Linked DNA regions of Homo sapiens: all the other regions are linked to region 1. The links are contacts of gene promoters, found by promoter capture Hi-C in blood cells and fetal thymus (Javierre and others, 2016). All regions are on one chromosome and are shown on one strand. The core of a region is centred on a gene start or on the middle of the fragment in contact, and the rest is flanking DNA. Distances in the headings are between cores, read along the strand shown.

Evidence for each region. The method cuts DNA at HindIII sites, captures the fragments that hold promoters and counts their contacts. A CHiCAGO score of 5 or more calls a contact.
Region 2: a fragment that was not itself captured here is called in contact with the fragment with the promoter of TARDBP in region 1 in 1 of 17 cell types (erythroblasts); the score reaches 5.7 in erythroblasts.
Region 3: a contact is called between the fragment with the promoter of C1orf167 here and the fragment with the promoter of TARDBP in region 1, in 3 of 17 cell types (fetal thymus, erythroblasts and total B cells). The highest score is 7.3, in fetal thymus.
Region 4: a contact is called between a fragment that was not itself captured here and the fragment with the promoter of TARDBP in region 1, in 2 of 17 cell types (naive B cells and fetal thymus). The highest score is 5.4, in naive B cells.

The regions. Positions count from the first base shown.
Region 1 is chr1:11,011,175-11,013,920 of GRCh38, reverse strand. It overlaps TARDBP (TAR DNA binding protein), which reads right to left and starts at 1,267. Exons shown (of 6, transcript NM_007375.4): 1 at 1,178-1,267; 2 at 1-205. The coding sequence starts at 193. RefSeq lists silencers at 1-195, 1,605-1,834 and enhancers at 557-1,524, 1,235-1,564. The HindIII fragment of the contact is 20,579 bases long and covers 1-2,746 here.
Region 2 is chr1:11,630,546-11,633,459 of GRCh38, reverse strand. No RefSeq gene overlaps it. Among named protein-coding and RNA genes, the nearest start is that of FBXO2, 22 kb to the left of the region's middle. The HindIII fragment of the contact is 9,749 bases long and covers 1-2,914 here.
Region 3 is chr1:11,760,728-11,763,763 of GRCh38, reverse strand. It overlaps C1orf167 (chromosome 1 open reading frame 167), which reads right to left and starts at 1,571. Exons shown (of 21, transcript NM_001010881.2): 1 at 1,459-1,571. It also overlaps the pseudogene LOC101060126. The HindIII fragment of the contact is 5,648 bases long and covers 1-3,036 here.
Region 4 is chr1:11,674,032-11,676,731 of GRCh38, reverse strand. It overlaps FBXO6 (F-box protein 6), which reads right to left. Exons shown (of 6, transcript NM_018438.6): 6 at 2,378-2,700. MAD2L2 (mitotic arrest deficient 2 like 2) reads left to right here. Exons shown (of 9, transcript NM_006341.4): 6 at 592-686; 7 at 1,001-1,074; 8 at 1,558-1,650; 9 at 1,916-2,252. The coding sequence ends at 1,957. Among named protein-coding and RNA genes, the nearest start is that of MAD2L2, 5.8 kb to the left of the region's middle. The HindIII fragment of the contact is 854 bases long and covers 824-1,677 here.

The sequences.
Region 1 (2,746 bases), core at 18-2,517:
CTGGGGCATGCAGAATTCCTTCTACCAGCCGGACACCTCTCATACACTGAGACACTGGATTCCTGTAGCGAAGCCCACACGCCCCTGGAAACTGGGCTGTAACCGTGGAGAGCAGCACCGTCCCATCGTCTTCCGATGGTATTTCAATGGGCTCATCGTTCTCATCTTCGGTTACCCGAATATATTCAGACATCTTTTACTTTTCCTAAAGAGAAAAGAGATATGAATGAACAACATTCATGTCAGAATAACTGTTTCCTTATAATGATAATACCCAAACCATGTCAGAGTTCTGACTTCCAGAAAAATGCTTGTCTGGATTCGTATATGCATTGGTTATCCCTGAAAAATGACGAGGTGAAGGTAAGGGTAGTGATTTCCTATCAAAATGTGATGCCTCGCCAGTTCATTCATTCAAAAAACTTTCCCTGAAGGCTTATGATGCGTCAGGTACTGAAACTGTAACTGTGAGTCCAACGTGGCTTGCTGGTTACAAGCTAGGGTATGCAAGGGAACAATAAACAGTAGCTATTTTATGACAATCGGGTTAGTCGTTAAGTAATCCTGAAGGCAGAGGAGGAGCCTAACTGGCTGAGGCATGGGCGTGATAGGTCCCAGTCGATTTTCCTAAGCAAGCGATCCATCAGCTGAACCTGAAGACTGAATATGGGCAGTGAACCAGGTGTAAAGAACAGGAGAAAAGTTTCCCTCTGTTCCTCATTTTGGGGCTTCCGGGGGCTCTGCGAGCCCGAGCCCCAAGGCCCGCGGCGACAGGTCCTGGCGGTGCCGGCCGTCGCCTCCCAGAAGCCCGCGCGTGCCAGCCGAGGGAGGAGTTTCTCGGCGCGGCCCGGGGTGGGGCGCAGGAGCACCAGGCCCAAGCTGGCAGCGTCCCTCGAAGTACAAAGTACCGAAGGCTCCGGCACTGTCCGGGTCCGGGGCCAACCTCCGCCTCAGGCTACGCGGCACCGCGGGCCCGGCCCCCCGTTTCGGCGCCACCGGCCTCCCCGTGCCAGGACCTAACGACGCTCCCGCGCGAGCCCGCTCGGGCAGGACTAGGCCCGGTCTCACGGCTGACTTCCCGGGGCAGGGTCCGAAGCCGCTGCGTCTGCCTCGGGCCGCCCCAATGCAGAAGCCGAGGCACCTACGGCGTCCTCAGTGAGAAGGCTCCGCGACTCACCCGCTAGGCCGCTGCTGGGAAGCCCGACAGGGACACCGAAGCAGCGACGGACCCAAGCGCAGCCCAGCCACCGCTTCGCTCCCACAAAATGGCGCTAGGGCCGCCTCCTCCCCCCGCCCACCGGCGTCCTCTCCCACCGGTTGCCTGTCCAGAGGTGGAAGGCACCGACGAGAGCCACGATGACCCTCTCCCCAGGGACTCGGGCTGCCTCCTGGAAATTCAAGCCTACAGAGAAGCTCTGAAAGCTAAAATAAAACCAGGACCTAGGCCTGAAAAGCTGAAGATTGAAAAAAGTGTGGCTGTATAGGAGCTGACCTCCCCCCACGTAACGTAGCAGATGGTTTCGGCCGACCAACCGCCGGCCCAGGTCTCGGTCGGAGCTCGCGCACTTTCAAAGCGCGCGAGAGTAGCACAGAGTCTCGGCCAGCGAGGGCGGGGCGGGGCGGGGCCTGGAGGGGGCGGGGCTCGGGATCCCGGGCCGAGTCCACCTGGGAGGCAGGATAAGGCCTGGACCCCTTTTCTGAAAGGCAACCTAGTGCGTCTTCTCCTCCCTCCGCCAGCCCACCTCCAAACCTGGAAACAATAACTTTGTTCTAAATAATAGCAATGATAAGGCTACTTTGTGCCAGGTACTTTCTGAGTATTCACATATTTAATAGCCCAAACAGTTTTGTGTAGCAGGAGCTATTGATATTCATTCTGCGGGTGAGGAAACTGAGGCACAGAGAGATCAAGTGTCTTGCTTAAAGTGACGCAAGGATTAGCCGGGCGGTAGTGGCGCGCGCCTGTAGTCCCATCTACTCGGGAGCCTGAAGCAGGAGAATTGCTTGAACGCGGTAGGCGGAGGTTGCGGTGAGCCGAGATCGCGCCACTTCACTCCAGTCTAGGCGACAGAGTGAGACCCTGTCCTCCAGCCCCTCCCCCCAAAAAAATGTCACCCAAGGAATAAATGGTAGACCTGGGATTTGAATCTCGAGGCACAAAATGCTAACTTGTTCTGGCTCCAGCCCTTTAATAATAATAATAATACAGTACTTCATCTATTTTAAGGCACACTTTTTGTTTCACTTTTTTTTTTTTTTTTTTTGAGACGGAGTCTCGCTCTTGTCCCCCAGGCTGGAGTGCAGTGGCGCAATCTGCAGCTCACTGCCACTTCCAACTCCTAGGTTCAAGGGATAGCTGGGATTATAGGCGTGCAAAGACACCATGCCCGGCTAATTTTTGTATTTTTAGTAGAGACAGGGTTTGGCCATGTTGGCCAGGCTGATCTCGAACTCATGGCCTCAAGTGATCCGCCTGCCTCAGCTCCCCAAAGTGCTGGGATTACAGGCACGAGCCACCTTTCTTTTCTATCTTTTCTTTCCTTTCTTTCCTTTCCTTCCCTTCCTTTCCTCCCTTCCCTCCCTTTCCCCCCCTTCCCTCCCTTCCCACCTTCCTTCCTCCCTACCTCTCTCTCTTTCTCTCTCTCTCTCTTTCTTTTCTCTTCCTTTTTTTCAGACTCCCTCTGTTGCCTAAGGTGGAGTGCAGTGGCACAATCTCAGCTCACTGCAACCTCCGCCTCCCCGGTTC
Region 2 (2,914 bases), core at 60-2,559, 620 kb before region 1:
GGCTCACTGCAATCTCCCCCTCCTGGGTTCAAGAGATTCTCCTGCCTCAGCCTCCCGAGTAGCTGGGATTACAGGTGTGCACCACGATGCCCGGTTGTAATTTTTGTATTTTTAGTAGAGATGGGGTTTCGCCGTGTTGGCCAGGCTGGTCTCGAACTCCTGACCTCAAGTGATCTGCCCGCCGCAGCCTCCCAAAGTGCTGGGATTACAAGCATGAGCCACCACAACCAGCCTAGTCCCATTTTTGAGATGAAGAAACTGAGGCATGGAGGGTGACTTGTCACAAGCCAAATGGCTACCAGTGGCAGAGCTGGGAGTGGACGGAGGTAGCCTGTCTCCAGATTCCAGCTTCTTAACCACTATGCTATAATGCCACATTCAGGGCCCTCTGCTTGGAGAATATTTGTTCATTGAACACATAAAGGGCTCATCGGGTGTGTTCTATCCCTACCCAGGGAGGAGATGCCATAACAAAGTGATCCAAAGGGAGCTAAGCTAACCCCCACCCAGATGAACTTCCCGTTCCTGGACCTCAGGCCCTGGTGCTTCTTTCATGCACTAGAGGCTTTCAAGAGGGGGGATCCTTTTGCCAAGACCCCCAGAGCTTAAAGGGGGGAGTCTTTATCCTCTCTCCCCCTCTCCACCATAGACAACTCCCTGCCGGCTCTCTGTGCTCTGTCTGTCTGTAATCCCCCAATTGCACTTAATGGGGCAGTGAGGTGCAGTTGGATACCATGGTTTGTGCCCCAGCTTTGCTACTTACAGCCTATGTAAATAGCAAACATTTCACCTCCTGCCCTCACTGTCTTCATCTCTGAAATGGGGTCCTAATCATACCTAACTCAGAGTGTTGAGGATTAAATGAGATCGTGGAGGTGCAGTGCTTAGTAGGGGCACACAGCAAAGGCCCAGCATAAGACAGCTGTAACTTCCTTTTCCTTCCTTCCTTCCTTCCTTCCTTCCTTCCTTCCTTCCTTCCTTCCTTCCTTCCTTCCTTCCTTCCTCCCTCCTTCCCACACTCCCTCCCTCCCTCGCTCCCTTCTGTTTTTGTTTTTGTTTGTTTTGTTTTGTTTTGTTTTGTTTGAGATGGAGTCTCCCTCTGTCACCAAGGCTGGAGTGCAATGAAGTGGTCTTGGCTCACTGCAACCTCTGCCTCCCAGGTTCAAGCGATTCTCCTGCCTCAGCCTCCTGAATGGCTGGGATTACAGGCTTGCACCACCACGCCCAGCTAATTTTTGATGAGGTTTTGCCATGTTGGCCAGGCTGGTTTTAAACTCCTGACCTAAGGTGATCCTCCCACCTCAGCCTCCCAAAGTGCTGGGATTACAGGTGTGAGCCACCACACTTGGCCTACTTTTTCTTTTTCCTTCCTTCCTTCCTTCCTTCCTTCCTTCCTTCCTTCCTTCCTTCCTTCCTTCCTTCCTTCTTCCCTCCCTCCCCTCCCTCTCCCCTTCCCTTCCCTTCCCCTTCCTCCCTTTCTCTTTCTTTCTTTTTCTCTTTCTTTCTTTCTTTCTTCCTTCTTTCTTTCTTTCTTTCTTTCTTTCTTTCTTTCTTTCTTTCTTCCTTCCTTCCTTCCTTCCTTCCTTCATTCCTTCCACTTTCTCTCTCTCTCTGAGCCCATGTCCTCAGTAACAGTCTGTGCCTACTCAGTGTTACTGGGCCCCCAACTTCCAGTGTTGGGGCATTTTTAACTGCTTGGTGGAAAGAGAGCTGCCAAGATCACATTTTTGCTCTGCATCTGATGCTGCACCCATCACGCTCTCAGCATGGCCCCAATCTCCCTGCCCCCTGCCCACAGCCCATCTTCGTGTTCTTTCCACTCTCTGTCCTGCTCCATCCTTTACCTGGTCTTCTCTGGGGTTGTCATGCAGCCATTTATTCCCTCAACCAAAAGAAAAACACAGAAACTCGCTCCTAATTAGATGCTTTCCGTCTCCCCAGGTCTTCACTTCTTGCATGTTCTCAACTTGTTAGAGGAAATCATATACTGACATTGGTATTGATTTGCATAATTCAGATATAATTAGGAGAAAGACTTGCCGGAGTGGCAGGCAGTGGGATTGGTGCTGCTGTATCCTGCTGACCTTGGGGAGAACTTAGAACTGGGCTCTTAACTCTTACCAAGTTCATGTTTACTTTCTCTGCAAAGCCCTGTAGGCACTAGTCCCCTGAGCTCACTCTTCCATGAGGTTTTAAGGCAACAGAGAAGGCTCCCTTCCCCCCGGAGTGTCCTCTTGCCCACCCCAGCATCTGGAATTCTGACCATGAGGGCTGTCGTATGGGGCCTGCTGGGGATGCAGAAAGACTTTCTACTGTCCTGGAGGTCAGCAGGCACAGGAGTCATCTTGCATGTGACGCCCACCATCTGGAGCTAGCAAGAGGATTTCAGGGTAGTGTCATCTTGACAGTTGGAGGAAGAAAAAGTCCCAAGCCCAAGCAGTGCTTGAAGCAAGAGAGTAGAAATTAGTGTGACCCAGTGAATTCTATTGCTGCCATGATGAAAAGTGCTGGTGCATTCTTGGAAAGATTAGGAACATAACGAGCCAGAGAAACAGATGAAAAATGCACGCCCGTGCCTGTTCTGTTTGTAACCGTTTCTTCATGCCTTTATTTATTCATCTATTCATTCAGCAAGTATTTATTGAGGGGCTAATATGTGCCAGGCACATAAAAGAATTAGGAGGCCGAGCATGGTGGCTCATGCCTGTAATCTTAGCACTTTGGGAGGCCAAGGCGGGATGATCACTTCATCATAGGAGTTTGAGACTAGCCTGGGGAACACGGTTCAACCCCTTCTCTACAAAAAAAAAAAAAAAAAAAAAAAAGGCTGAGCATGGAGGTACACGCCTGCGGTCCTAGCCACTTGGGAGGCTGAGGTGGGAGGATTGCTCGAGCCCAGGAGGTTGAGGCGGCA
Region 3 (3,036 bases), core at 322-2,821, 750 kb before region 1:
CTTATTCTGCCTCGTCCTCACGCCCGACAGCCTCCTCTTCATGCGGCGGCAGGGTGATCCTGTAAACACTGAAATCAAATCATGCCCTGCCTCAACTCTAATGCCACAGAAGCTCTCCAGCCCCCTCAATGCCCCGTGAGCCTTCAAGGCTGTAGGCCAGAGGTTAGCAAATTACTGCCTGGGCCAGTGGTCTATTATGTGAATAAAGTTATATTGAAACAAAGCCCATTTGTTTACAGACTGTCTGCTTTCCAGCTGCAATAGCAGAGCTCAATAGCTGCAAGATACCTTAGGCTGCAAAACCTTTTTTTTTTTTTTTTTGAGCCGGAGTCTCACTTTGCCACCCAGGCTGGTACAATGGCGTGATCCCGGCTCACTGCAACCTCCGCCTGCCTCCCTGGGCTCAAGGGATCCTCCCACCTCAGCCTCTAACAAGCTGGAACCACAGGCACATGCCACCACGCCAGACTAATTTTTCTATTTTTTGGTAGAGACAGGGTTTCACCATGATGGCCAGGATGGTCTCGAACTCCTGACCTCAGGTGATTGGCCCGCCTCGGCCTCCCAAAGTGCTGGGATTACAGGCGTGAGCCACCACACCCAGCCCCGCAAAGTCTTTAAAATCTGGCTGCCAGTTATGGTCCTCCCCAATTCCTCTTCCCCTTGCCCACTGTCCTCCACACACACCAGCCCCCTGGCTGCTCCTCCAAATGGCACACACGACCTCACCTCAGCGCCTCTGTGCTGCTGTCCCCTCTGCCTTCAAGTCTTGCCTCCCACATCACAGTGAGCCCTCCCTGCCCACTGTCTCTCCAACTGCAGCAACCTGGCCTCTCCTCACTCTCTTTGCCCTGCACTTGCGGCCACCTAACATAGTGAAGAAATTAGTGTATTTCTCCCTCCAGTGGCCTAGGAGCCACACGAGGGCAGGCTGGTTTTTTTTGTTTGTTTGTTTCCCTGCTGGATTTGCAGCCCATAGAACAATGCCTGACCCCCAGCAGGGGCTTGTAAATGCACATTGAATAAATGACAACCGTGCTAGGCACCTTGCAGCCTTCAGCAGGCGTCCTGCCATTTAATCTGCACTGCAGCCCTGGGACTTAGGTTCCCTGTTTTAGAAATGAGGACAGGAGCTTAGAAGGGCCTGTCCCACCCAAGGCCTCAGAGGGAGCACCCCAGGGCTGGCTCCACAGCGCAGACTCCTAACCAAGAACACCCCACCATCCCCTCTTGCCCAAGTTGACTTGAGGCCGCTCAATCCACAGGAGACCTTCCTGCACCCCTGCCCCTCACGCCGGAGCTCTTCGGTCCATTTCTCCGCTCCTCGTCCGTCTCCCTCAGACTCCCCCCTCCCACTCCACCCCCACCCCTGTCCACTTAAGGGGGCTCACAGCCTCCCTCCTCTTGCCACCAAAAGAGTCTGAGGTCAGTTTCCTGCCCTCATGGATCTGCCCTCACGTGCGTGGGTCCTCCTCGGGTCCTCCTTCACCCAGTCGGATTTGAATCTAGACGGGGGCTGGGACCGCTAACGATCCCCGCAGGTCGGCAGGTCGCGGGCGGGAGGGGACGTCGGAGAGCAGAGCGTGCTGCCCCGCGCTTGGCCCCGCCCAGCCCTGAGCCGTGGGCGTGGCCACCGACGTCCTGGTACAGGTTTTGCCGGGTCCTCCGCAGGCAAGGCACGTGGTCCCAGGGCAACTTTTGCACGTGCAAGATGAGCGACATTCTCTTGGCCATCAGGTCCCCGGGAACCTCCTCCACCCTCTGCCCCGAATCCTGTGGCAGCATCACTGGGGTCTGGGCTTCCTCCACCAGGCGTGCCTCCTCTTGGCTCCTTCCCGCACCTAGAGCTGCCTCCTGGAGCCCCCGCACATCTGGGATACCCCCAGCCATGTCCCCACCACCTATGCCTCTTGGGGCTGCAGGACATGCCCCCGGCTCCCACTGGTAGGAACCCCAGGGGCAGGACATCCGGGTCATGGACACTCACATCCTCACCCGTTCCCAATAGGTGCGATGTCCCATCCAGGGATGTCTCAGATGCAGCTGGCAAACCATGGCCCTCATGGCTGAGGACACACCCGTGATGGGACCCCAGGATCTGGGGGGCAGCCACCACCCTGATCACCACCTGGAATGCCTCATCCTGGACCTCCTCCAATGAGCATGTCCCCCAAGGGGTCTCGGTCTGGATCTCCCATGGGTCACTCACGTCCTATGCCTCCATGGTATGTGTGGACCTCCTCCACCGATGCTGCCTCATGGATACACTGGCCCTCCCCAACACCCACCCTATGGCTTCCGGGGGGGACTCTCCCTCCACCCAGACCCACTCCGGGGCCTCCAGTTCCCCCTCAAGGCCCACTTTGGGGCCCTCTCCCTCAGTAAATTCACATTCTTCTTCCTCCTGTTATATCTTCCCAATATCTTTTTGATTCCTTGGACCAGAGATGCTGCAGCTCCTTGCAACTAAGGCACAAATCCCTTTCAGCCTTCCCATCTTCCTTTTTAATGCCATTTTTTTCCCCATAGAAGGTATTTCTTTTTCATGTTGGTCCTAAGTATTTTGCAAATGCAAAGGAAAATAAAACTATAACAAATTTCTTGTTAAAAGAAAGAAAGAAAGAAAGGCTAGGCACAGTGGCTCACACCTGTAATCCCAGCACTTTGGGAGGCTGAGGTGGACGGATCACAAGATCAGGAGTTCAAGACCAGCCTGGCCAACATGGTGAAACCCTGTCTCTACTAAAAATACAAAAATTAGCCGGGCATGGTGGCGGGCACCTGTAATCCCAGCTACTCAGGAGGCTGAGGCAGGAGAATCACTTGAACCTGGGAGGCAAGGGTTGCAGAGAGCCAAGATCCTGCCATTGCACTCCAGCCTGAGCAACAGACCAAGACTCTGTCTCAAAAAAAAAAAAAAAAAAAAAAGAAAAAAAGAAAAGAAAAGAAAAGGCTGGATGTGGTGGCTCATGCCTGTAATCCCAGCACTTTGGGAGGCCGAGGCAGCCGGATCACTTGAGGTCAGGAGTTCAAGAC
Region 4 (2,700 bases), core at 1-2,500, 660 kb before region 1:
AAGAAGCACCAGCATGACAAGGGGACAGCCTGTGAGCAGCTGAGATGGGTCCAGAGAGATGACATGAGCTACCCAGGGTCACCTGGGTGGGGGCAGAGCCCAGGACACAGAAGCAGTTTTCTGACTCCCCAGGCAAGTGTCCAGTCAACTCGAAGTTGACCTCTGGCACATGCGTTAGTTGGTCAACTGCATGCTTCCAATGGTGAGGTCAGGGCACTGGAATCTGGCACCAACCTGTCCCCACGGCCTGTGTGGCCTTAGGCAAGCCCTTTCCCCTCCTGGCTTGGTGTCCTGGTTCTGGGTCCTGGCTGCACATTAAAACCACCTAGGGAGGCCTCCTCAGGCTGCCCCTACCTCCCCTGTCCCCTACCCCCCGCCGAATTCTGACTTTATCTGGGGTGGGGCTGGGCATTTCTTTTAAACTCCCTTGCTGGTTTAATTGTGTGGACCGGATAGGGAGCTGGGTCCTAGGCATGCAGCACTCTCACAGGCACTGGAGGGGGTCTTGTACCCCAGGTCTGCATCCAGGCTTGATGCCTGTGGTGGAGGGGAGGGCGCCAGTGTGATGGGAAGACCTCCTCTCACTCCCAGCTCAGACTCGCTGTTGTCTCATGTGGAGCAGCTGCTCCGGGCCTTCATCCTGAAGATCAGCGTGTGCGATGCCGTCCTGGACCACAACCCCCCAGGTGTGTCCACTCCCCACCCTCTCTTCCCTTGGCATTTCCATGGTTATCTCGGGTTGGTCTGTGTTCCCAGGTCCATGTTTGGCTGTTCTGAGACTCATCTCTTCCTAACCCTGAGAGTCCACCTCCTCTGGGAAGCTTCCCTGATTGATTCTACCTGGCTTCCATCTCCCTATTGACTGGGGCTTTTCTTAGCACTTGCTTTGCCATCTGCTCTGGGGGTGCTGCTGAGCCAGCAAGGGAAGTGGGAAGAGGCTGGGCCCAGTGGCTGGCACCAGGGCGGTGGGGGAGCCTCCACCAACCTCTTGCCTCTCCAGGCTGTACCTTCACAGTCCTGGTGCACACGAGAGAAGCCGCCACTCGCAACATGGAGAAGATCCAGGTCATCAAGGTGAGATGAGATGGGTCTGGGTCTGGGCGCAGGCTCTAGAAACGTGATGTCGCAGTTCCAGGCGGGCAGGGGCACTGCCTGTGGCCAGCCACCCATTACATTGGTGTGGCAGCGCCTGGCACCCAGCAGGTCCTCAGGCCTGTCCACTGCTCCATCTGGGCACTTGGGGCAGTGAGGAGCCCAGGTGGAGCCACCTACTGGGGCCCCCAGCTCATCCTGGCTCTTCTGAAGTGGGGGCTCTCCAGGGAGGGGTCCTAGCCCACCAGGTTCAGCGTTGGTGCCTGGAGCCTGTTCGTCACTTGGGTTCTATGGACTTGGCCTCTGTGGGGGATGGGGGCGGTCCTGGGGTCTGCATCACCAACAGCTTCCTAGTGATTCTGAGGCTCAGGTTGGAGGCCCCTGGTCTGGAGTGGGAGGGACAGCAAAGTGAGGGCAGGCCAGGGCCCAGCCCCGTCACCCCCCTGACCTTTGTCTCCTCCCTAGGATTTCCCCTGGATCCTGGCGGATGAGCAGGATGTCCACATGCATGACCCCCGGCTGATACCACTAAAAACCATGACGTCGGACATTTTAAAGGTGAGCTTCGTGGGGACCCGGGAAGCTTTATTTAGGGGCTGCTTAACGAAGTGAGGCCCGGTGCTGAGGCCTTACTAGAGGGCTTGCGGGAGAGAACGGGGGAGTGCCTGGTGGAGGGCTCCTCCCATCTCTACTCTTCTCCACCATGGCTATGGCCACGAGGCCCCACCTGTGGTGGAGGTCTGCCCACCAGGGGCTTCTGTGTCCTCCAGCAGGGATGCCCTGGCTGTCTTGCTGACTGTGGCTGTTTGCTTGTGTCCGTCAGATGCAGCTTTACGTGGAAGAGCGCGCTCATAAAGGCAGCTGAGGGGGCACCTGCCACCCCACTGATGCCCAAACTGTCAGACTTTGGGGGATCCCCGCCTAGGGCAGTGCTGCATGGCTGCCCTGATTCCAAGTGCTCTTATCGCCTCTGTGTGTGGATCGCCCGCCCCAGCCCGGGGCCGCTCAGGTCTGCTTGGAGGATGCCTCCCCCAGGAGGGCAGTGAGGGATGCCGCAACCTCGACTTCTCAGCCTCCTGGGGTTCCGCCGGCCAACACTGTCTGTCTCAAATACTGTGCTGTGAGTTGTTTCAATAAAGGGGCCCCAAGGGCTGGGCTGAGCTGAGCCATCATTAACTGGAGTGGGAGGGACAGGTATGGCCAGGGTAACCTGGGAGAGGGGCTGCTTCTCCACCAAAATGCCAGGGACCCCCTCTCCCCACTCCTAAAACCAACCCCAGGCTGGTTTTACTGAAAACATTTATTTTTTATTTATTTATTATTATTATTATTTTATGAGCCAGAGTCTCGCTCTGTCACCCAGGCTGGAGTGCAGTGGCGTGATCTCGGCTCACTGCAAGCTCTGCCTTCCGGGTTCACGCCATTCTTCTGCATCAGCCTCCCGAGTAGCTGGGACTACAGGCGCCCGCCACCACGCCCGGCTAATTTTTTGTATTTTTAGTAGAGACAGGGTTTCACCGTGTTGGCCAGGATGGTCTCTATCTCCTGACCTCGTGATCCACCTGCCTCGGTCTCCCAAAGTGCTGGGATTACAGGCGTGAGCCACAG